Linked DNA regions of Homo sapiens: regions 1, 2, 4, 5, 6 and 7 are each linked to region 3. The links are contacts of gene promoters, found by promoter capture Hi-C in blood cells and fetal thymus (Javierre and others, 2016). All regions are on one chromosome and are shown on one strand. Each heading gives the region's core, a stretch centred on a gene start or on the middle of the fragment in contact. The rest is flanking DNA. Distances are from core to core; before and after follow the strand shown.

Region 1 (3,344 bases), core at 476-2,975, 400 kb after region 3:
TTCCAGACTGAGAGTTTAAAAATGTCTGTAAATCAGTGGTTGAAATCTGTTGGCTCTCAAGCTTAAACTTCTTTCCTTTTAGCTTCTTGCACTTCCTGTTTCTGGCTTTTTGGTTTCCTTACGCTTAACAATTGTAAAATTTCTAGTGAAAGTTTGATACATATTTTGGTACAGATTATTTCTTTCCCAAAACAGAATATTTTGTTTGGAGATAAATGAGGAAATAACATTTGAGAAATTAAGTTGGTAGTTAATAACTAGTATCTTAGCACTCTTCAGGACCTCAAGTAGTGAAATGTATACCATGAAAGTTAAAGTATATTAAAATCCTTCATCTCTAGAAAAGATAAAAATTTCCCACCTCTTTTTTTTTACATTATTGAATTATTATTATTCAACTTTAGTTGAAATTAATCAATGCAACTTTACTCCCCCTAGAGGAAAGTGTTAAAAGTTTACAAGAAACATTTTTTTTACCATATTTTAATCACATTTTTGTCCTCTAAAGAATAAATGTACCTAGAGTAGATTCTTCTGTTCATTGTTAGAAGTTATATTTAATGAAATATTTTATAAAATTTGAGGTTGCTACGAATGCCAAAACTATTGTTTTTAGAAAATGTGGGAAGTGGCCAGACACCGTGGCTCACGCCTGTAATCCCAGCACTTTGGGAGGCTTAGGTGGGCAGATCACAAGTTCAGGAGTTCGAGACCAACCTGGTCAACATGGTGAAACCCCGTCTCTACAAAAATTTAAAGATTAGCTGGGCGTGGTGGTGGGCGCCTATAGTCCCAGCTACTTGGGAGGCTGAGGCAGGAGAATCACTTGAACCTGGGAGGCGGAGGTTGCAGTGAGCTGAGATCGCACCATTGCACTCCAGCCTGAGTAACAGAGCAAGACTCCGTCTCAAAAAACAAAATGTGGGAAGTATATGAGTCCTTAAAAATACACTAGAAATACTGCAATATAAACAAGCAAACTGATCTCTATCTGGGTTTAATCTTTTAGTGTTACTTCTCCTCTTGAAGTCTGATTATATAAAGGTTTAGTGTTTCATTAATTTTGTTGCCATCATTAACTCAACTGTTCTGTTTTGGGGCTGGGCGCAGTGGTTCACACCTGTAATCCCAGCACTTTGGGAGGTAGAGGCCGGTGGATCACCTGAGGTCAGGAGTTAGAGACCAGCCTGGCCAACATGGTGAAACCCCGTCTCTACTAAAAATAAAAAAATTAGCCAGGCATGGTGGCAGGTGCCTGTAGTCCGAGCTACTCAGGAGGCTGAGTGCTTCAGTTTTGTAATATTTGCTTTATCTGGAAAAAAAAAAAAAGTTAAATGGGTCCTTTGGAGAAATGCTGGATTAAAATATCAGAAAAGTAACTAAATCAGATATTAAACGTTAAATATGTAAGGAAGAGTCTTTTTTGGGATAAGACTAGCACTATATGGTCTTTCAAAGAGATTCAAATCTCAGCTGTCATATTCTTTTTTAATGATCATAAGTTGGACAATGATTACTATGAACAAGTTGATATCCATTTGTCTTTTAGCATTAGTATATTGCAGCTGTGTAGACTGACAACTAAGTACTTTTGCTGACATGTTTTAGTATATTTTTGAACATAGGTTGACTAATACTTGTTACAGAAAGTTCTCAACTTGTACAGTTTCATAACCATGTAACTTCTTATGATATCTGTTCAGTGTATATGCTAACTAATTTTAAGATAGAATTTTAGTGTCTTAGAGTTGTGTGTATAAATATATTAGCTGTGCACAGATCTATATATTCCATTTATAAAACATGATAAATATATTCACCAATTTTTATTTTTAGTGTCATTAAAATTGTGTGTGTATATAGAGATATATATACAACTTTATATACACACATTTTATTTATTAAATGTGATCTATATATTTACTAATTTTTTTTTTTTTTATAGAGTCATTTGCCCTGGCTCCATAGTTCCCACCCAGGATTAGAAAAAATAAGTGCTATAGTATGGGAAGGTAATGATTGTAAGAAAGCAGACATGTCTGTACTTGAAATCAGTGGAATGATAATGAACAGAGTGAGTTTTTAAATTTTATTCTTGTAGTTCAAGGGTAAGACTTAGTAATTATATATAAGATAATTACTGGAATATTATATTAGTAACCTTCTGACCTCATTTCTTCACCCTGAAAAAAAAGTTACATGTGTGTATTTGTTTCTGTCTGTAATTTAAACAGTGATTTGTCACCAAACCACTCTCATCTTCTAGTGTTTTCACTTATCTGACCAAGAATAGATGATACGGTCTATAATTTTTCTCTTTTATCTTTTTCTTTCTTTTGAAATTCAGGAGCTTGTTAGATATATACAGGTGTTAATAAAGACTTTTCTTTGGACTAGAGATTGTTGTTACAAGAACTTTAAAAATAAAAAAATAATTAAAAAGACTTATTTTTCTGTATCATTCTTACTGGTTCATTTGTTTAATAGGACTTAAGACATGAAAAAATCAAACTAGTAAATTTGCATTCATACTTGCTTACCTACTTAAATATATAGAAGTAATGCAGATAGTGGTAAAAGTCTTGAGTAGTTCAAAGAAGTCTAATTGAAATACTGTGGATTAAAATTTTATTTTCTATTATTTCTTTTTTCAGATAATTACTGATTTTTAAAATGTGTTGATTGGCCGGGCGCGGTGGCTCACGCCTGTAATCCCAGCACTTTGGGAGGCTGAGGCGGGCGGATCACAAGGTCAGGAGATCGAGACCATCCTGGCTAACATGGTGAAACCCCGTCTCTACTAAAAATACAAAAAAATTAGCCAGGCGTGGTGAAACCCTGTCTCTACTAAAAATACAAAAAATTAGCCGGGCGTGGTGGCGGGCGCCTGTAGTCCCAGCTACTCGGGAGGCTGAGGCAGGAGAATGGCATTAACCTGGGAGGCGGAGCTTGCAGTGAGCCAAGATCACGCCACTGCACTCCAGCCTGGGCGACAGAGCGAGACTCCGTCTCAAAAAATAAATAAATAAAAATAAAATAAAATAAAATGTGTTGATTTCTCTGGACTTGTTTTTAACTTGCAATTTCTAAATTTCTTTGGTGCATTATTGTGCTTGAACTCTTCTCCACACTTTGTGTAAGACAGGAATTATAATAACTGGGTCTAGAAATTGATAATACTCCCTATAACATATCTCAGTGTGAGCAATTAAAAGCAGTTGACGGGGAAGTCTCTGGAATCTTGGATCTAGTTTGTGCTCTGTAACTTAATTACCTGTGAATTGGCAGATCACTTAACTTACAATGGTCTCATTTATCTAATATATATTATAAAAAGTTGGCTA
Region 2 (3,169 bases), core at 343-2,842, 340 kb before region 3:
GGGACAGGATTGAAATTGAAGGTGATTTGTGAAGGAGTCTTTATTTTAATCTGTAACTTTTTAAAAAATTAAAGGATTCATGGATTTTATATTAAAATTAATTTCAAAATTATTCCTGCTTTTTTCTTCAGGAATTCAGTAGGGTGGAACAATCACTATTGGGCAGGTACAGCAATATGCCTCTGTGTGACATGTCCCCACAGGCATGTTCCTAGGACCCCTTCTAAAAGTTTGCCACTGTTACATTCCCAGTCCTATAGTATACAGTAAGTCCTCACTTAACATCATGGATAGGTTCTTGGAAACAGCAACTTTAAGCAAAAACAGCATATTGTATGCCATAGGAACTTCATTCTTGTTTATGTCAATTAGCTTATGGTAAAATTGGTTTTGTTACATGGTATGTTGTTTTAACGTCGCTGTTTCTGAGAACCTATCAACAGCGTTAAGTGAGGACTTACTGTATTTGATCCTGTCTTGCCATATTCTCCCTGGCTGTAATTGCTTCTCACCTATGTTCACAGTCTCTCATATCCGCAGATTTGACCCTACCCACTACTTTCCCAATCATAACTGTGGCCTCTTTAGAGTACAACTCTTTCTCTGTGGCAACATATTATTAATCACTTTGAATAACAATACTCATGTCTCAAATTTCCTTTACTCCTATTCACACAGATTGATTTCAGGATAGAACTTAGACAATATTGAATAATATATAATAAGGAATATGTAGGATGGCATAAGATCTAGGAGAGGTGCCAGGACCCCACCTACTGTCATCAGAGAACTCTGCCTATAAGAGATAACTATTTAGGGCCTGGCGCAGTGGCTCACGCCTGTAATCCCAGCACTTTGGGAGGCCAAGGTGGGCGGATCACGAGGTCAGGAGATCGAGACCATCCTGGCTAACACGGTGAAACCCAGTCTCTACTAAAAATACAAAACAAATTAGCTGGGTGTGGTGGCGGGCACCTGTAGTCCTAGCTACTTGGGAGGCTGAGGCAGGAGAATGGTGTGAACCCAGGAGGCGGAGCGTGCAGTGAGCCGAGATGGTGCTACTGCACTCCAGCCTGGGCGACAGAGCAAGACTCCATCTCAAAAAATAAAAAATAATAATAACTACTTAGGATGATGATGATTTTTTTTCTCTGTCACCCAGGCTGGAGTGCAGTGGCGCCATCTCTGCTCACTGCAACCTCTGTCTGCCAGGTTCAAGCAATTCTCCTGCCTCAGCTTCCTGAGTAGCTGGGACTACAGGTGTGAGCCACCACACCTGGCTAATTTTTGTATTTTTAGTAGAGATGGGGTTTCACCATGTTGGCCAGGCTGGTCTCACGTGATCCGCCCACCTCGGCCTCCCAAAGTGCTGGGATTACAGGCATGTGCCACCAACACCCAGCTGGGAATGATGATTTTTAAATATATATGTTCTAGGTGCTTTATATATGTGATTTAATCCTCTCAATAACTCTATCAGGCAGATTCTATTACTATTCCTATTTTATAATTGAAGGAACCAAAGAACATTAAGTGACTTGCCCAGGATCATACAGCTTGCAAATAGTGGAGCTGAAATTCAAACCAGGAAGGCCAGCTCCTGAGTTCCTGCTGTTAATCATGGGTGATAAGACAAAACCCAGTGAGGAAAGAGGATGGCATTCTATCTAGACCAAGGAAACAGTATACTAAAGGCAATGAAAACATTAGAAAGCGTAGTTTGTTTGTGTACAACAAGGCGTTTAGTATGGCAGAAGTATAAGTAGTGGTAAAAATCATTTCATGAAGGGACTTATTTGCCAGATTTTATCTTGTAGAAAATAAGGCATTGTTGGCCGGGCACGGTGGCTAATGCCTGTAATCCCAGCACTTTGCGAGGCCTAGGCGGGTGGATCACGAGGTCAGGAGATCGAGACCATCCTGGCTAACATGGTGAAACCCCGTCTCTACTAAAAATACAAAAATTAGCTGGGCGAGGTGGCAGGCGTCTGTAGTCCCAGCTACTCAGGAGGCTGAGAGAGGAGAATGGCGTGAACCCAGGAGGCAGAGGTTGCAGTGAGCCGAGATCTCGCCATTGCACTCCAGCCTGGGCGACAGAGTGAGACTCCGTCTCTAAAAAAAATAAAATAAAATAATAAAAAAAAAGAAAAGAAGGCGTTGTTGAAAGTTTTTTAAGCAGGACAATAACATGATCAGAATTGTACTTTTGAACAATCCCCCTGGTAGGGATGAAAGTTGGACTGGAATAGACTGAAACCAGAGGTACAGACTATTCAGATGCGTTTGTGTTGTCCTAAGGAGATGAAGAGGGCTAACCAGAGCAGCAACACTAATAACGGAAAAAGAGGAGAGGAAGTTGAATGCCACAAAATGAAACTGAAACTTTTGTATTTCAAATGTTTCAACAGTATTCTAGAGGGAAGTAAGATAATGGTGTTCCTCTATTTGCCTCTGACTTCTTGTTAATGAAATAGTACTCATTAAAGTCTTCAGAGTCACAGATATTGTATAGCTGAGGTAAGCATTTTACAACTTTTCAGACACAAGTAAGTACATAAATATTATTTTACAACCAACAATATTTAATATTTCCACATTGAAGAATAGATGTGATAATTAAATCTTTTATAAGGTTTTAAAAAGACATGAAACATAAACCTAATTATACATAAAAGAAAAGAATTTTAAACAAGAGCTTATTGTGATGACATTACTCATAACTTTTACCTTTAAAACCTTTTCTTGGGTAGCTATTCAAAAGTAAAGACCACAAGTTTTGTTGCCCAGATTTCTTATGTTTTGTATATTTAAGCTCTTTATTTATTGAACAGATGTGTCATTAATTCATTTGGAGCATTACTATTATCAGTAAAATTTGATTTTTTTTTCCCCTCAGTCATAGGTAAATCAGCTCCACCTGGAATTTCTAAGGACCCAGTTTTAGTCAATATTTTCAAGTAATCATGACCTCAGAAATAGTCTTAATTAAGATAACAAATATTAGCCATCAAAATGGAACCAAGACAAGATTCTAATGTTTGTAAACAGTCAATCCATATTTATGAATATTAGCATATATTGGTGAATAGTTAAGGCAAAAGGTTCTAGCAGATGTAATCTATTTCCATCAACATGTTAAATGTTATAAAAGTCTAGAATTATTGGTAAC
Region 3 (3,190 bases), core at 387-2,886:
CACCTATTTTCTTCAATGAGTTTTTCACTAAATTCCATAGTGCTCCTAACTTTCATCTGAGAAAGTATTCTACCACTGATATTTCCTATTATAACCAAATTCGCTGACCAATCTGCTCTGTAAAAAAAGGTTTGTGGGTATAAATGACGAAAGTCAGTTCATGGATCAAATCCTTCAGTTCTGTCACATTGTGAGAGGCCACTGTTGTGAAAGTAAAATAACTTCTAGTTACGGCTCTGCTAAGAATACGCTGGGGGATGTCAGGAAGTCGCTTTATTTGTAAAATGATGAGTTAGACCAGAATATATTCTCTGATAGAAGTTTACAAAGATGAATAAAGATTTATAGGCTAGGCGCGGTGGCTCACGCCTAAAATCCCAACACTTTCGGAAGCTGAGGATCCCTAGTGCACAGGAATTCGAGATCAGCCTGGGCAACCTGGTGAGACCCCCTTCTCTACCAAAAATAAATAAATAAATAAATAATAAATTTTTAAAATGTATTAGCTGGGCTTGGTGACGTAGTGAGGCAGGAGGATGCCTTGAGCCCAGGAGTTCAAGGCTGCAGCGAGCCGTGATCATAGCACTGCACTTTGGCATGGGAGATAGAGCAAGACCTTAGCTCTAAAAAAAAAAAAAAAAAAAAATTAATAGATTTATAAAGTCCATTCTATGGAGGAAAGTCTCTTATTCAGTTATGAACTGCTGCGAACCTAAAGGCAGGAAGGCAAATTCCCTTCAGTTCGGCAAACACGAAGACCCCACATTCGCGTCGTCTGTGAAGAAGGCACTCCGAACCTCAGGCGCTCACTCGCCAGGTTTAAGAGGATGAGCAAAGAATAAAAGTCCTCTCACCCAGGAAGCGTTTCGCTTCCCTTAGCTGGAGCCACGCTCCAAGGTGCCAAAGCCTAATTGCTGTCCACTCTCACCAATCCGTTAGCAAGATGAGCATCTACCTGCTGCGAACGTGGCGGTGACACTACTACAGCTCCCAGCCTGCCTCCCGCCCGCCCCCACTCCTGGACTCCACAGACCGTGACTTGTAGTCCCAGCCCACGGCTGGCGGCGGTGCGGGACTCCTGAAAACTGCTTTTCCTCCCTAGTAGGCGGTGAGACCGCAAATTCCATCAGAATCCTACTCTGACCCACTAGGGCTTGGCCCGCTCAGAGTCGCATTCCCTCCTCCAAATGAACCAACTCTCCTCCCAGCGATACTCCGACCTCTGAGCACCCCGGGCGGGGCCACGCCCCGGAAATGGAGTCAGGTCTCCAGGCCGCCCGCTGAAGTGCCTTCCAGCCACTCCAAGCGGGGCTGGGGCCGGCGGGGCGGGCTTGGGGGCGTGGCCGGGAGGCGGGCGGGGATGCATCTGCGGGCGCAGCGCTTGGGGCGGAGCCGCAGCGCGAGGCCGCGCATCTGGGTGGCGGCGGGGACGCGCCCGTGGGGAGAGGCGGCTGCGGCTGCGGCTGCGGCTGCTGGCGGGGGGTGGGGGGGAGGAGGAACCGGGAAGGGGGGGCAGGGCGAGCGGAGAGCTAGCTGTGTTCCTGAGGCGGCGGCGGCGGCGGCGGCGGCGGCGGCGTCTCCGACGGAGGAGGAGGGCGGGGAAGGAGGATGGAGCAAGCTGGGGGTTGGGGTTGGCGCTAGCGCAGCGGCTCGCCTGGTACTGTGGGAGAGCGGCGGCTGCTCCTGGAAGTTGTGGTGTCGGGAGCCCAGCCGGTGCCGCCGCAGCCGCCGCCTAGGGCGGTGGGGAGGAGGAGGGAGCCGCGGGGCTTGGCGGGGTCGGGAGGGAGGGACGTGCTGGGGGAACGAGCTGGGGAAGACGGAGCGGGCTCTGTGCCGGGCGGGCGGGCGGCGGGGGGGCCAGCGACCGCAGCCGGGGGGACGCGGGAGGATGGAGCAAGTGGAGATCCTGAGGAAATTCATCCAGAGGGTCCAGGCCATGAAGAGTCCTGACCACAATGGGGAGGACAACTTCGCCCGGGACTTCATGGTGAGTCTCTCCCCTCGCTGTCGCGTTTTCTTGCCGGCGCCGGAGCCCATCGCCGCCTCTCCCGGCCGGGCCGCCAGTGCTTTGTGTACCTCTGTGAGGAGAGGGGCGGAGGGGGCGCGCACCAGCCGGGTGAGCCGGGTGGTCTCGGAGGCCAGCGGGAGGCGAGAGCGCCTCCCCCCGTGGCCTCCTTTCTTCTCCCATGTTCGCGACCCCCGCGCGGGTTCCCGGGACGCGAAGGGAGCGGCCGCGCGGCCGAGCCCGCAGCCTGCACCGTGGCTCGCGACCACCTATTGTTTACCGGGCCGGGAGCCGTAGGCAAGTGAGGTGCAGGCCGGGGGGGGGGGCTCGCGTTTCCACACCTCCCCGCGCAGTTCGCTCCTCCCAGGAGGGTCGAGGCAAGGTATCTGGCTGTGACCGGGAGGAGTGCAGATCGTGGCTGACAGAGGAACGGGGGTATTGAGGTTGGCACTAACTCCTGGGATCCCTTTGCTCTAGCTGGTCTCAAAGCGGGCAGGGTAGGACTTAGGCCGTTTCTGGGGTCGCAGTCATGATCTCCAACGCTTGGGAAAGGATTGCCCATAAGGAATCTCATGGGTTTACCTAATTTCCATTTACCCGCGTCCCGCTTCTCCTCTCCTGAGGCCCAGGTTTGAGGTGGTCTTGGGGTCCGTGTGACTATAGGTTCAGGGGATAAGTGTGGGTGGGGGAATTATCCTGAAGGAAGCCAGCCGACTTCGGACTCCCCAGGGGATATTGCCGAAGGCGGAGGGGATGTGACTATCACTTCCTATCCGGGGTGGGGGTGGGGAACTTGGGAACAATAGTCCTGGTGGGGCGGAGGCGACGCTACGGGCCGAAGCCCTGAACTGGGAGATAACCTTCCCAGCGCCCCCCCGCCTCCGCCACCCCCTACTTTCCGCCCTCTGCTTGTGCAGGCAGTCTTGAGAGGAGGTGAAGGTTAAAAGTCTTGTTCATGAAATTGCTCTAGATACACTATTGCTTTAGCACACTGTGAGGGGGTCAGATCCGAAGGCGTGAGACCAGAAGTCGACTTCCTACGTTACCCACCCCCCCAACCCCCGCCCTTTTTATTTTTCTGCTGGACAATGTTCCCTCTAGGGTTGTTTCCCGGCTTAGGAGGCGGTGGTTGCGGCTGCTGCTCCTACGGATATTGCGCAAGACTGGGGCGTTGGAAACCCTGTA
Region 4 (3,230 bases), core at 1-2,500, 320 kb before region 3:
CATCCCGGCTAACATGGTGAAACCCTGTCTCTACTAAAAATACAAAAAAACAGCCGAGTGTGGTGGCGTGCACCTGTAGTCCCAGCTACTTCAGAGGCTGAGGCAAGAGAATGGCATGAACCCAGGAGGCGGAGCATGCAGTGAGCCGAGATCACGCCACTGCACTCCAGCCTGGGTGACAGAGCAAGACTCCGTCTCAAAAAAAAAAAAAAAAAAAAATTGAAGAAAAAAATCCCATTCACAGTGATATGTCTCAAATAAATAAACAAATAATAAATAAATAAACAAAAAAGAAAAGAGTAAATTATTCATGGTTATTGGCTAAGCCTGTAAGTGTCATTAGCAGATTCTAGCCTACATGGCAAGAGGTAAGGTAATGTGGTAATGTAATAGAAAATTTTTTTTAAGAAGCTGGGCCATTTGTCCCATAAATTTTTCCATAATCTGGATTTTGCTTAATAGTAAGCCTGTATTTCCATTATAATCATAGAGCCTTAGTGCATAAATGTTTTATCCAGGTCACATTAATTTTTTTTTTTTTTTTTTTTGCCAAGGCTACTTTCTAGGTGGTGCCATCAACTTTGTTTTTTGTTGTTGTTCAAGTTTTTATTAAATTTTTTATTGTCACATGTACATATTTATGGTTTACATAGTGATGGCTTTTTGTGTGGTGGTGGTGGTGGTTTGAGGCAAGATCTCACTTGGTCACCCAGGCTGGAGTGCAGTGGCGCAATTACAGCTCACTGCAGCCTTGACTTCCTGGGCTCAAGCATCCTCCCACCTCAGCCTCCCGAGTAGCTGAGTCCACAGGTGTGCACCACTATGCTTGACTAATTTTTTTTTAACTTTTAGTAGAATCAAGGTCTCACCACATTTCCCAGGCTGGTCTTAAATTCCTGATTTCAATCAATTCTCCCACCTCAGCCTCCCAAAATACTGGGATTACAGACATGAGCCACCTTGCTCTACCCATAGTGATGTTTTGATACTTATAATGTATAGTAATCAGATCGGGTTAATTAGCATAGCTGTCATTTCAAACATTTATCATTTCTTTTTAATTATTATTTTAAATTCAGAGGTTATATGTACAGGTTTGCTACACAGGTATACTGCATAATGTTGGGTTTGGCTTTCTCTTGAACCCATCACATAAATAGTGAATATAGTACCCAGTAGGCAGTTTTTAAACCCTCACTGCCCTCCCTCCCATTCTGAAGTCCCCAGTGTCTATTGTTTCCATCTTTATGTCCATGTGTACCTATTGTTTAGCTCCCACTTATAAGTTAGAAAATGAATACTTTGATTTTGTTTCTGCATTCATTCACCTAGGATAATGGCCTCCAGCTGTATTCATGTTGCTGCAAAGGACATGATTTCATTCTTTTTTATGACTGCATAGTATTCCATGGTGTATATGTATCACATTTTCTTTATCTAATCCTAATGGATGGACACTTAGGTTGATTCCATGACTGCTATGGTGAATAGTGCTGCAATAAATATAAGAGTGCAGGTGTCTTTTTGATAGAATGATTTCTTTTCCTTTGAGAATCCCAGCAGTGGGAGTGCTGGGTCAAATGGTGGTTCTATTTTTAGTTCTTTGAAAAATTTCCATGCTGTTTTCCACAGGGGCTGAACTAATTTACATTCCAACCAGCAGCGTATAAGGATTCCTTTTTTTCCACATCCTTGCCAACATATTATATTTTGACTTTTTAATAATAGCCATTCTGATTGGTGTGAGATGGTATCCCATTGTGGTTTTCATTTGCATTTATCTGATGATGACAAGCATTTTTTCATATGATTGTTTACTCATATGTCTTCTTTTGGGAAGTGTCTGTTCATGTCCTTTGCCCACCTTTTAATGAGGTTATTTGTTTTTTGCTTGTTGATTTAAGTTCCTTATAGATTCTGGATATTTGTCCTTTGTCAGCCTGATAGTTAGCAAATATTTTCTCCCATTCTGTAGATTGTCTGTTTGCTCCATTGATTGTTTCTTTGCTGTGCTGAATCTCTTTAATTAAATTTCATTTGTCAATTTTTGTTGTTGTTGCATTTGCTTTTGAGGTCTTAGTCATAAATTCTTTTTCTAGTCTAATGTTTAAAAGTTTTCTTTTAGGATTTATATAGTTTGAGGTCTTACATTCAAGTCTTTAATCCCTCTTGAGTTAATTTTTATATGTGGTGAGAGCCAGGGGTACCGTTTCATTCTTCTGAATATAGCTAGCCACTTTTTCCAGTACCATTTTTTTGAGTAGGACGTCCTTTCCCAATTGTTTCTTTTTGTCAGCTTTGTTGGAGATCAGTTGGTTGTAGTATATGGCTTTATTTCTGAGTTCTCTGTTCTGTTCCATCGATCTGTGTGTCTATTTTTGCACCAGTACCGTGCTATTTTGGTTACTACAGCCTTGTAGTATAGTTTGAATTCACAAAATGGGATGCCTCTTGGTTGCATGAACTTTCATCAGGAGGCACATGATATTGGTTGTCTCCCTTTTAGTGATGTTACCTGCTATTAATAATACTTGCCTGGGTCTATTAATTCATTAGGAATTTTAAATGACAATATTATAATACTATTATTTTCTCTTCACTTATTTATTAGAATCCTTCTAAAAAGAGAAGCTTCCACTCAGTTATTTGGTTACCCTGCTGTAGAGGCATGATAAATACTTGATTTTCAGGTTTTCAAAATGATTAATTGATTCCCCAGTATCCTTCAAAGGTGAGAGGTGTTGTGGGGTGTTTTTATTTTTTTGGTGTTTTTTTTTTTTTGAAGTATTACTGTGAACTCATTTACTTAAACATAGTTATTCCCATCCTTTATAGTTGTTAGCTCATTGCCAGTCCTCCTGGCCCATTTTTTGGGTAGTGGGAGCCTTTTGACATGACTCCAAATCCCTTTGACATGATTCTAGTAGTCTTGGGTAGATTTTTTGCTTTTCTGATATGACAGAAGCATTGGAGGCTCATTTGTTTCCATGCTCAAAACTTGGAATCAGTCATTTCTCCAAAGGAGCCTCCCCTTTTTCTTTAAGTGGGAAATGGTATTTAGAGACTAGAATCTTGGAGTAAGAGGTACTCATTGCTGCTAGGTTAATCTTTGTTTCTATGCCTTTTTAATGGACAGAACTAGGAAAGATAGATTATGTATATATAAAATACATCATAATATTGCCAATTCAAAGTCAATAATTACACAGGGAATTTATTTAACCTCTTCA
Region 5 (3,222 bases), core at 718-3,217, 300 kb after region 3:
TAATTTTTATTGTATCTGAATCTTAATATGCTCAAAAAGCATGCATGCTCCCACTCATGCATGCTCCCACTCATCATGCATGCTCCCAAGAGTGGTATATAAAACCTCCGGTACTTTGTTTACTGAGGCAAACTAGTGGTAGCGTTTCTACAGTTGCAGATCTGTATGTGCTAGGATTGGCTCAGCAGGGTGCTTTACCCCCAGGATTTCCCTGAGATCATCCTGTGTGTCCTTGGATGATTTTGGTTTGTAATGAGTTCTGCAGCCAATAACTGCTTTTGAACCTGTTTTAGGCTCATCCTTAACACTAGACCAGAGGTAACCTCTATGCCAGTGTCATCTTGTGACTAAAATAGTATTCTGGAGTTGATGGGAATCAGTCTCAAATAACCTCTAGGGTTAAGGAATCATTAAGTTTAGTACCTATCCTGTTTTAGACAAACACAGAAAAGATGCTTATGAAATGGTTTTTGGTATTTGTCTTAGTTTGATTATTTTTAAAAGAGATTTGCAGAGTTATAGAACATATCAGCAGTTTTAATCTGTTTCTTGTAAGTTACAATTCAGTAGCTTAATTTTTTTCAATAAAATAAACTTTTAGGGACTGTATTTTATAAACTGAAATATTAAAGAGTTTTTTTGATCTTTGAGGATTAATTGTCATAACTACTTAAATGACAGTTAGCAAACTGTGATATCTGGGAAGTCTTTAGTGTTAATTATTCCTGTGTATTAACTCTAATATTGGCTTAGTATTTAACATAAATACTTTTTGGCTCTTGGGTTATTTTAATTCAGTTTTGTGTTTACTGAGTGTCAGGGAAAATTAAATATCATTATAAATTCTGTCATCTCTGTTAAGCCATCCTTTAGCAATGGTAACTGACACTGGTTTTTAGAAACAAACTACATTACTGATTGAATGAATTGGTTTCTTGTATGTGGATTTTTAGATGAACAATTTCTGGTATAACCTAGGAAATTCTGAAATTTCTTTAAAAGATTAAAAAAAATTCAATCTATTTTGTAAGAAAACAAGTGTTATTTATTCATGCAAATAGAACTTTCTATTATTGTGGCAACTGATTTTTGTTTACTTAAGAGAACCTGTTGCTAAAATAGTAATGAGGAAGAGTGTAATATAAGTCTCGTCATACACCCCTTGCTCTGCAAGTAACCAGAGTGCTATGTCTGCATGCTGTTCAGTCTCCTTTTGGAAGGTGGGAAATAAAGTCATTTGTATGTTTTTCTCTCTTGCACAGCCTAAAATGACCAATGTGTGATTTCAGTGGAATAAATGGCGTCCAAAGTCACAGATGCTATAGTCTGGTATCAAAAGAAGGTAAGTTGATAGTCAAAACTTTTAGCTTTCTAAATGTTTGAATTTCAAAAATACATGTTTATTTCATGCTATAGATGTTAGGATTTTGAGTGGGAAAGGAAGATTATTTTTATTTTTCTTGTACTTATTTTACTTCTAAATAAATTGGAAAGATGATGCTTAAACATATTTTTTCTCTACTTTTTACTCTACAATAGCAAAGTAGCTAGATTAATTATAATAGAAAGCAAATCTCCAGGAGTGGATAAAATTAGCATTTTATAAAAACATTAACACTTTCCTTAGTTTAATTTTTTAAAAGAAAGATTAGCAGAGCTGTTACATAACTTATATCAATAGTTTTTAATTTGTTTCTTGTAAGTTACAATTCAATAGCTGAATGTTTCAGTAAAATAAAGTTTTGGGAACTCTATTTTACAAACTGAAATATTAAAGTGTTTATTTTGATGTTTTAGGATTGTCGTACCTACTTTAAATAGCTGTATCATCTTATATATTTCAGAATAAGCTTTACCAATGTAATGTTTTTCTTTATAAAGTCCAAAAGAATATAGGCATTTTTTGACAATACAATAAACTGTTTGCTCCTAATGAGTGTTGTTTATATTCTTTAAAATTTATGTTGTTTTGTGTAATACCTTAGATCTTTTGTGTACATAGTGGATTATATTTGTGTTCACATTTTAAAACATTTTTATACCTTATTCTTCAGGTCTCTATTAACAAAATATAATGATACATTTAAAGCTTTTCTTATATAGGAGAAAAAACAGACTTTTTTTTTTTTTTTTTTTTGAGATGGAATCTCTCTCTCTGTCACCCAGACTGGAGTGTAGTGGCGCGATCTCGGCTCACTGCAACCTCTGCCTCCTGGGTTCAAGCGATTCTCTTGTCTCAGCCTCCCAAGTAGCTGGGATTACAGGCATATGCTACCATGCCTGGCTAATTTTTGTATATTTAGTAGAGACAGGGTTTCGCCGTGTTGGTCAGGCTGATCTTGAACTCCTAACCTCAGGTGATCCGCCCGCCTCAGCCTCCCAAAGTGCTAGGATTACAGGCTTGAGCCACCGCGCCCAGCCAAACAGATGATTTTTAAGTTTTGTTCAATTGAAAATAAGTGATAATTAAAACACTTTAAAAGTTAGACAAACTAAGAATATGGCCTTTTTAAAAATATTTTTTGAGACAGGATCTCACTCTGTTGCCCAGGCTTGAGTGCAGTTGCACACTCATGGCTCACTGCAACCTTAACCTCTTGGGCTCATGTGGTCCTCCTACCTAAACCTCCCTTAGTAGATGGCATGGGATTATGGTCTGTTTTTAGATGTGTTATTTGTTTTCTGGGTAGAACATGCCATAGGTATACAATTATATTTTTCATATGAGGTACTTTATTGGAAGTATTGATATTGATATACTATTAATTGTCTTTTGTGTTTGTTAGTGCCTCCTTTTAAACTTTTAAACTTCCAATCAAGTTAAAAATCAGTCTGCTTAGCTAAAGAGCTAAAGAAAATTGTAAGTTAAGGAAAACAAAACAAAACAAACTTTAAAAATTTTCCTGTCTATATCTTTGAAAGTTTTTCTCTTTCCTAATTTCTATCTACGGGAGTAATAAACATTTTCTCTGTTTGGCTTTTTACATTAAACACTTTAGACTTTACTGAAGATCATTTATAGAACATACTTGATTGACCTTTCTTGGGATCAGAGGGTTTGAAATATTATACTCAGATTCAGTTAGCCCTGTAACTGAAGTTAGCCCTGTAATTGAAATGACCCTCTTATCCAAGGGTCATTTACCTGACAGCTTTGGATACATGCAACCAAAATATTCTCCAGAGCAACTATAGGAAATGTCATAAAATATACTAGCAAAT
Region 6 (3,178 bases), core at 537-3,036, 320 kb after region 3:
TTAGGATTTTTCTTCCCTATTTTGGTTATGAAGTTCTTAATTTTCCTCCTACACACTGTCTCCAGTTTGGGTATCTGTAGCCTAAATAATTTGGGTTTTAGTTTTATTTGTTTACAAGGAAAAAAGAAACTATACTATGTGATAGTTGAGGGTTTGACTTTAGAGGTTATCTAGTTCCTGTTAAACTTTTTGCTTTATAGGCAAGAAATCGGACACCCTTAGAAGTTAATAACTTGATCATGAATTAGTGATTAAAACCAAAACTAAGGTCTGCTGACTTTTAGGCCACTGGTCTTCCTGTCCTAAAGTTTCTTTGAGAAACAGACCGAAGAGACTTTGATGTAACTCATTTGTTTAATTTGAGAGGTTTTTTTTGTTTGTTTGTTTGTTTTTAGGTGACCTCTGATGTCTCTGTCTTTGGAGAAGTATACACTTTTTTTTTTTTTTTTAAAGATAGGGTTAGTATTACAGATACATATGTGTTGATTTAACAATGACAGGAATGATGATGATGTTAGAGTACCACCATACATTTAAATAGCATTTTTCCCAAGAGTGCTTCTGTATATAGTCTCATGGTTTAATTTATTGTGATAATGAAATAAATTAACTCAGTGGTTATAACAAGATATAAGAAGTTATATTGGTTTTCTATGTCTTTCATAACAAATGACCACAAACTGGGTGACTTAAAACAATAGAAGTTTATTTTTTTCACCATTCATGAGTCCAGAAGTCCAAAATCAAGGTGTCAGCAAGGATGGGTTCCTTCTGGAGAGAGACTGTGAGGGAAAAACTGTTCTCTGCTTTCTCCTAACTTCTAGTGAACAATCCTTGTTGTTCCCTGGCCTGTAGATTCATCATTCCAATCTTCACCTCAATCTTCACATTGCCTTCTTCACACTCTTTCTGTGTTCTCTCCTTTTCTTATGAGGACAGTAGTCATTGGATTTAAGTCTCATCTAAGTTAAGATCTTATCTTGAGATCCTTAACTAATTACATCTGCAAAGACCTTATTTCCAAATAAGGAACTATTCTGAGGTTCCGGTGCATGTGAATATTTGTGGGACACTATTCAACCTACTACTGAAGGATAACTGAAGTATATTTACTGGTTTTAATGGATTTCGTGTGGAGATGTGTAGCTTTATTTCCATCTGTGTAGCTGTATCGTAGACCACCAGTGAAGAACTGAGTAAGAGAAGGTCAGGATCCCAAATATTTTCTTCATGTTCTTAAAAGTTACGATTGTCGAACACCTAGGTCCTCTTTTTTTAAAAAAAATTTTTCATTCCTTAAAGATACCTTGCAAAACAGGAAGTGAGAATTTCTTTTCTTTCTTTCTTCTTTTTTTTTTTTTTTTTGAAGCAGGGTCTCTCTGTGTTACCTGTGTTGGAGTACAGTGGCACAATCACAGCTTACTGCAGCCGCAACCTCCCAGGCCTAAGCGATCTTCCCGCCTCAGCCTCTGGAGTAGCTGAGGCTATGACTATAGGCATGCACTAACACACCTGGCTAATTTTTTTATTTTAATTTACAATGAGACCCTGTCTCACTGTGTTGCTCAGGCTGGCCTTGAACTCTTGGGCTGAAGCAATCCTCCTGCTTTGGCCTCCCAAAGTGCTGGAATTACAAGTGTGAGCCACCATGCCTGGTACCTAGCTCCTCTTATATGAAGTGTTAAGGAATACGTTTATGCAAAATTAAGCACAATTTTCTGCTTTCAGTTCTTATTAAATAGATATTTGGGTTGTTTAACCTAACAGTTATGAGGTTTCCTTTCTTACTTATTATAAATAATAATAACATTCTTTCACTTTTAAAAAACTGCATGTAAGTTAAACCAGAGTGTATATTTCTCAATGTCCTAATCTTGGAGGATTGTCAAACCTACTTTGTGATAAATTATTGATTGTCTCTTAAAATGCTGATTGTCTCTATTGGGACCAAAAAACATTGAATATAAAAGTTTACATTTAGATGTGTATAAAATATTAATCTGTTGTTTTTGTTATAAAATTGGAGCAGTTGAGTCGACATGTGCAGTTTAAAAAATTTATACTCTTATTGAAATCAAATGTATGAGAATATTATTTTTTCTATAACTGCTACAGGCTACCGAAAAGCCATTCCTGTCTTTGAGGCTACAGGATTTTGTATTTGGGGCTAATTATACACAACAATTTAAAGTGATTATGTACTAGAGGACATATTTGGCTGTCCTAGGTTAGCTGGTTTTATTTTTATTTAGCAACTTTGGGTGAGTTTCTTAACTTTCCTAAGCCTTGGTTTCTTTATCTGTAATATTGAGATAAGAATCCTTTTAAAATTGCTGTGATGATTAAATGACACAACATATATAAACACCAAGTACAGTGCTTGGTGTATAGTAGGTATTCAATAAATACTGCTATAGCACTTCCTCTCCCTTCTGTTCACTTTTGCTAAATATAGACTGTTGTTATTAATCAAATGTTAAATTAAAGGTTTTTGTTAATTGCTCTTTTTTTTTGAGGCAGGCTCTCACTCTGTTACCCAGGCTGGAGTGCAGTGGCACAATCACGGTTCACTGCAGCCTTGACCTCCTCGGCTCAAGCAATCCTCCCACCCCAGCCTCCCATATAGGGACGTGCCATCATGCCCTGTTAATTTTTTGTTTTGTGTATTGTAGTGATGGGGTCTCACTCTGCTGCCCAGGCTGGTCTCGAACTCCTGGGCTCACGTTATCCTCCCACCTCGGCCTCCCAAATTGTTAGGATTACAGTCATGAGCCACCTTACCTGGCCTTAATTGTTCTCTTAAATTGGACATTTCTATATCAGTTAAAATGGAAAAACACCATTAGAAGTGGTCAGTTTTCCTTTGTATTTTTGAAAATTATGTACTTACATTTAATTGCTCTCTCCCTTATTCTTTAATTTCTTTTTTTATTTTTATTTATTTATTTTTATTGTTTGCTTTAATTTCTAACACAATTTTTTCCTTAGGGTGTGTCATTCTTTATCTGGGATCCTTTGAAGTACTTTGTTTTCATGGTAAAGAGGGGTGTTTTAGGAAGGAACAAAACAAATGATGCATTAAAAAGTGGATAGAATAGATAGCTATAAAGGCAGATATAGTTTCAGTTATATCTTACACTTAATTCTACATGGTAATTTTGAGGAATGCACTATCCTA
Region 7 (3,332 bases), core at 39-2,538, 490 kb after region 3:
CTTCAGGGCAAAGGATTTTCATTTGAAGTATAATCTGTCAAAAACAGGTTTGTATTTGGAACTTTGATCAGTTTTGAGAGGGATGATGGTGGTGAAATGGTAATGTGTATGTGAAGCGGGAGGGGAAATGACTAAGTTTGGGGAGAGGGAACAAGGAGGAAGCCAGCCACAGAAATACACTGGGAAGAGTTCCCGCTTTCATCGGAGGCCCCTTAGGATGGACAGGGATGAAGAGAAGCTCAGATTCCCAGGGCGCAAAGTCAAATTCTGAATTTTTATGGATGTTCTTTCCCGTGTTATGAGCTCTAATGATGCAGTAATAGCTTTACTTAAAGGAGCTCTGTCCCTGGGAAGTCATTAACCAACATGCCAGAAAATGTTCCAATGAACCCACAGGTAAGATAGACTCTAAATATCTTATATTCCACTGTGGGAGAAGCAAGCCCCTCTCCTAAGTTAGGATCAAGTTTCTTACCCTTCCTATTGTCAGTTCTAGCCAGTTTGGATCTTTCCTAGAAAACAGATTGATTAATCCATAAGTACATATCAGTATATATACACACAGATCACACACACCCCATTATGTTTTAGTTAAAAGATGTATGGTTTCTCAAATTATCTTGTAGGAGCCCAGCAATATTAAAAAATAAAATGTGCTCCTTCACTTCATATGCCAGAAATAAAAAATCTCATCTACAGAAATTGTGTTTCAACAGCTTGTTTATGATATATAACCAAAGTGATGGTAAAACCAGAGAGCTGACCCAATAGGAATAAACTGCTTGTTGCAGTAAATAAGTATCTGTATTCTTGGTTTTCCCATATGGCTCTTAACTCCAGCAAACATTTGTGCAGAAGAGGAAAGCATAACCCACATCAAAGGAGAGTTAATTTTATCCTGTGCTGAAGACACAGAGGTTGAGAAAGAAAAATCTTTTAAGGATTGTGCCCAAATTATAATGGTTCATTTGCATCTGTTCCACCATCACAAAGGTGATTGCTCTTTATAACAAAACATAAACAAGAAAACCCTTAGAAGGGAGCCAGAGACTGTGGGCAATGGTGGGGTTCGGGTGGGGCCGGAGGTGGGGTGGGGAAAGAGACTTTGTCAGCTGTCCCATACCTCACCAGTGGCCTCAGGGCATCCAGCTTCAGGCTGGGTGTTTCCGAAAGCCATGAATAAGAGTTCCTACATTGCTTTCCTACTCTCATTACAGGGCATGAACCCAGGGCCTAACGACTGCGTCTTGGATTAGAGTGGTCAGGAAGATAATAGAAGCATTATTGCTATTGATACTACTCATAATGGCAATAGCTAACACTGACTGAGGTACTTACTAGATGCCAGGCACTCTTTGAAGGCCCTGAAATGTATTAACTCATGTTAATACATGTAAACTGACACATTTTACAGATGAGGAAACAGAGACACAGAGGTTAAGGAACTTGTTCAAGGCCACACAGCTGGTAGCTAAGGGGCATTGAATGGCTTTCGGAATTGGGTAATGTTCTACAAACTCAGCTGAAACACTGACGCTGAATGTCTTTACTGTCTGCTAGTCTGATTGAGAAATGAGGGCTCATGTCTTCTTCTGGGGCAGTATAACAGAAACTTCCATCTAAAGTGATTGTCAGAAGCAGGTCCATCGTTATTCCTAATGGAGACTCTCAAACGCCATTTGTGTTTGAACCTTGGACACAGTCGCTATGATTAGAGCATTGATCTGTGAAAATGATAGAAATATGACCTGCAGGCCAGGCGCGGTGGCTCACACCTGTAATCCCAGCACTTTGGGAAGCCAAGGCGGGTGGATCACCTGAGGTCAGGAGTTCAAGACCAGCCTGGCTAACATGGTAAAACCCCGTCTCTACTAAAAATACAAAAATTAGCCGGGTGTGGTGGCACATGCCTGTAATCCCAGCTACTCGGGATGCTGAGGCATGAGAATCGCTTGAACCTGGGAGGCAGAAGTTACAGTGAGCCGAGATCATGCCTCTGCACTCCAGCCTGGGCGACAGAGTGAGACTCCATCTCAAAAAAAAAAAAAAAAGAAAGAAAAAGAAAAAGAAATATGACCTGCAATCAGAGAACAATAAAATTGGATTTCTTAAGGGCAGGGATAGTACTATCTACTTAAAAAAATATCTTCACAGTGACATTCCTTGAAGCTGGATTGAATTGAAAATATATTAGATACTGGAGACACTGAGTCACTTTGAGACATAAATACTTTTACTGCTCAAATGACTAGAATTATTCTGTAAAAATATCCATGAATTTAGTGCCATTTGTTATAAAACTCTTTCCTGTTGCAACCTACAGTTGTCTGGGGTTAGACAATACTGGTGTGGTTTTATTGAAATCTATTTTCTTTTAATTTAGAATATTATGGGAAAATACTAAAATGATTAAGGTAGATCAAAGGACAGTAATGTGAAGTCATTTGGCATTCAAAAGAAAAACCTTTTAAGAATTGTGTTCAAACTATAAAGGTTCATTTGCATCTGTTCAGCCATCACTAAGGTGATTGCTTTTTGTAACAAAATATAAACAAAAGTACCTTGAAAATTGCAGAACAAATGGTTTTACTTTGCATCTGCTCTTTCTGAAGCATTGTTTCCAAGTATGGAGCCATCGTTAATGGCCTTCAAACATGTATTTGTTTCACTTATATTACCAGAGATGTAAACTAGATGTTATGAACATTAATAACTTTTACAATGGTGATGGTATTTGCTTATTGAAGCTTCACATTTATATTCATTTTAAAAGCATAATCAAAGGTGCAGCAATGAATCTGTGGCAAGTTTTAGCTACCTCTATGGCCAAAAGGGCAAATCTCATGGATAGGTGGGGCTGTTAACAATGGAGCAGCTATCTACTGAGAGCCTTCTATGTACTAGGAACTCTGCTGCGTGGATCACATATGTATATTATCTTTTAATCCTCCTAACAGTTCAAAGAACTATGGTGCTATTAGGCCAGGTGTGGTGGTTCACACCTGTAATCCCAGCACTTTGGGAGGCCAAGGTGGGCAGATCACTTGAGGTCAGGAGTTCGAGACCAGCCTGGCCAAGATGGCAAAACACCATCTCTACTAAAAATACAAAAATTAGCTGGGCATGGTGGCACGTGCCTGTAATCCCAGCTACTCGGGAGGCAGGAGAATCTCTTGAACCTGGGAGGCGGAGGTTGCAGTGAGCTGAGATTGTGCCACTGCACTCCAGCCTGGGCAACAGAGCAAGACTCCATCTCAAAAAAAAAAAAAAAAAAAAAGAACTATGTTGCTATTATCCCCATTTCAAAGATCAGGAAACTGAGAGGTAGATAA

What was found. The method cuts DNA at HindIII sites, captures the fragments that hold promoters and counts their contacts. A CHiCAGO score of 5 or more calls a contact.
Region 1: a contact is called between a fragment that was not itself captured here and the fragment with the promoter of PTPN12 in region 3, in 2 of 17 cell types (total B cells and naive B cells). The highest score is 8.6, in total B cells.
Region 2: a contact is called between a fragment that was not itself captured here and the fragment with the promoter of PTPN12 in region 3, in 13 of 17 cell types (monocytes, neutrophils, M0 macrophages and 10 more). The highest score is 15.5, in monocytes.
Region 4: a contact is called between a fragment that was not itself captured here and the fragment with the promoter of PTPN12 in region 3, in 3 of 17 cell types (neutrophils, monocytes and M0 macrophages). The highest score is 9.5, in neutrophils.
Region 5: a contact is called between a fragment that was not itself captured here and the fragment with the promoter of PTPN12 in region 3, in 1 of 17 cell types (total B cells). The highest score is 7.1, in total B cells.
Region 6: a contact is called between a fragment that was not itself captured here and the fragment with the promoter of PTPN12 in region 3, in 1 of 17 cell types (total CD4 T cells). The highest score is 5.5, in total CD4 T cells.
Region 7: a fragment that was not itself captured here is called in contact with the fragment with the promoter of PTPN12 in region 3 in 1 of 17 cell types (naive B cells); the score reaches 5.6 in naive B cells.

The regions. Positions count from the first base shown.
Region 1 is chr7:77,935,765-77,939,108 of GRCh38, forward strand. It overlaps PHTF2 (putative homeodomain transcription factor 2), which reads left to right. Exons shown (of 19, transcript NM_001395272.1): 12 at 1,946-2,074. Among named protein-coding and RNA genes, the nearest start is that of DDX3ILA1, 53 kb to the right of the region's middle. The HindIII fragment of the contact is 3,332 bases long and covers 60-3,344 here.
Region 2 is chr7:77,190,810-77,193,978 of GRCh38, forward strand. The region is part of intron 2 of CCDC146 (coiled-coil domain containing 146); the gene reads left to right. It overlaps FGL2 (fibrinogen like 2), which reads right to left. Exons shown (of 2, transcript NM_006682.3): 2 at 2,560-3,169. Among named protein-coding and RNA genes, the nearest start is that of FGL2, 7.4 kb to the right of the region's middle. The HindIII fragment of the contact is 3,370 bases long and covers 1-3,169 here.
Region 3 is chr7:77,535,659-77,538,848 of GRCh38, forward strand. PTPN12 (protein tyrosine phosphatase non-receptor type 12) reads left to right here and starts at 1,637. Exons shown (of 18, transcript NM_002835.4): 1 at 1,637-1,987. The coding sequence starts at 1,889. LOC124901681 (a long non-coding RNA gene) reads right to left here and starts at 1,291. Exons shown (of 3, transcript XR_007060395.1): 1 at 713-1,291; 2 at 1-623. RefSeq lists enhancers at 717-766, 937-1,156 and silencers at 1,227-1,526, 1,777-1,986, 2,127-2,176. The HindIII fragment of the contact is 6,799 bases long and covers 1-3,190 here.
Region 4 is chr7:77,212,423-77,215,652 of GRCh38, forward strand. The region is part of intron 2 of CCDC146 (coiled-coil domain containing 146); the gene reads left to right. Among named protein-coding and RNA genes, the nearest start is that of FGL2, 14 kb to the left of the region's middle. The HindIII fragment of the contact is 2,757 bases long and covers 1-2,629 here.
Region 5 is chr7:77,838,959-77,842,180 of GRCh38, forward strand. It overlaps PHTF2 (putative homeodomain transcription factor 2), which reads left to right. Exons shown (of 19, transcript NM_001395272.1): 2 at 1,263-1,342. The coding sequence starts at 1,298. Among named protein-coding and RNA genes, the nearest start is that of PHTF2, 42 kb to the left of the region's middle. The HindIII fragment of the contact is 239 bases long and covers 1,849-2,087 here.
Region 6 is chr7:77,858,217-77,861,394 of GRCh38, forward strand. The region is part of intron 2 of PHTF2 (putative homeodomain transcription factor 2); the gene reads left to right. Among named protein-coding and RNA genes, the nearest start is that of PHTF2, 61 kb to the left of the region's middle. The HindIII fragment of the contact is 5,217 bases long and covers 1-3,178 here.
Region 7 is chr7:78,025,593-78,028,924 of GRCh38, forward strand. All of the region lies in intron 21 of MAGI2 (membrane associated guanylate kinase, WW and PDZ domain containing 2), which reads right to left. Among named protein-coding and RNA genes, the nearest start is that of DDX3ILA1, 37 kb to the left of the region's middle. The HindIII fragment of the contact is 2,914 bases long and covers 1-2,745 here.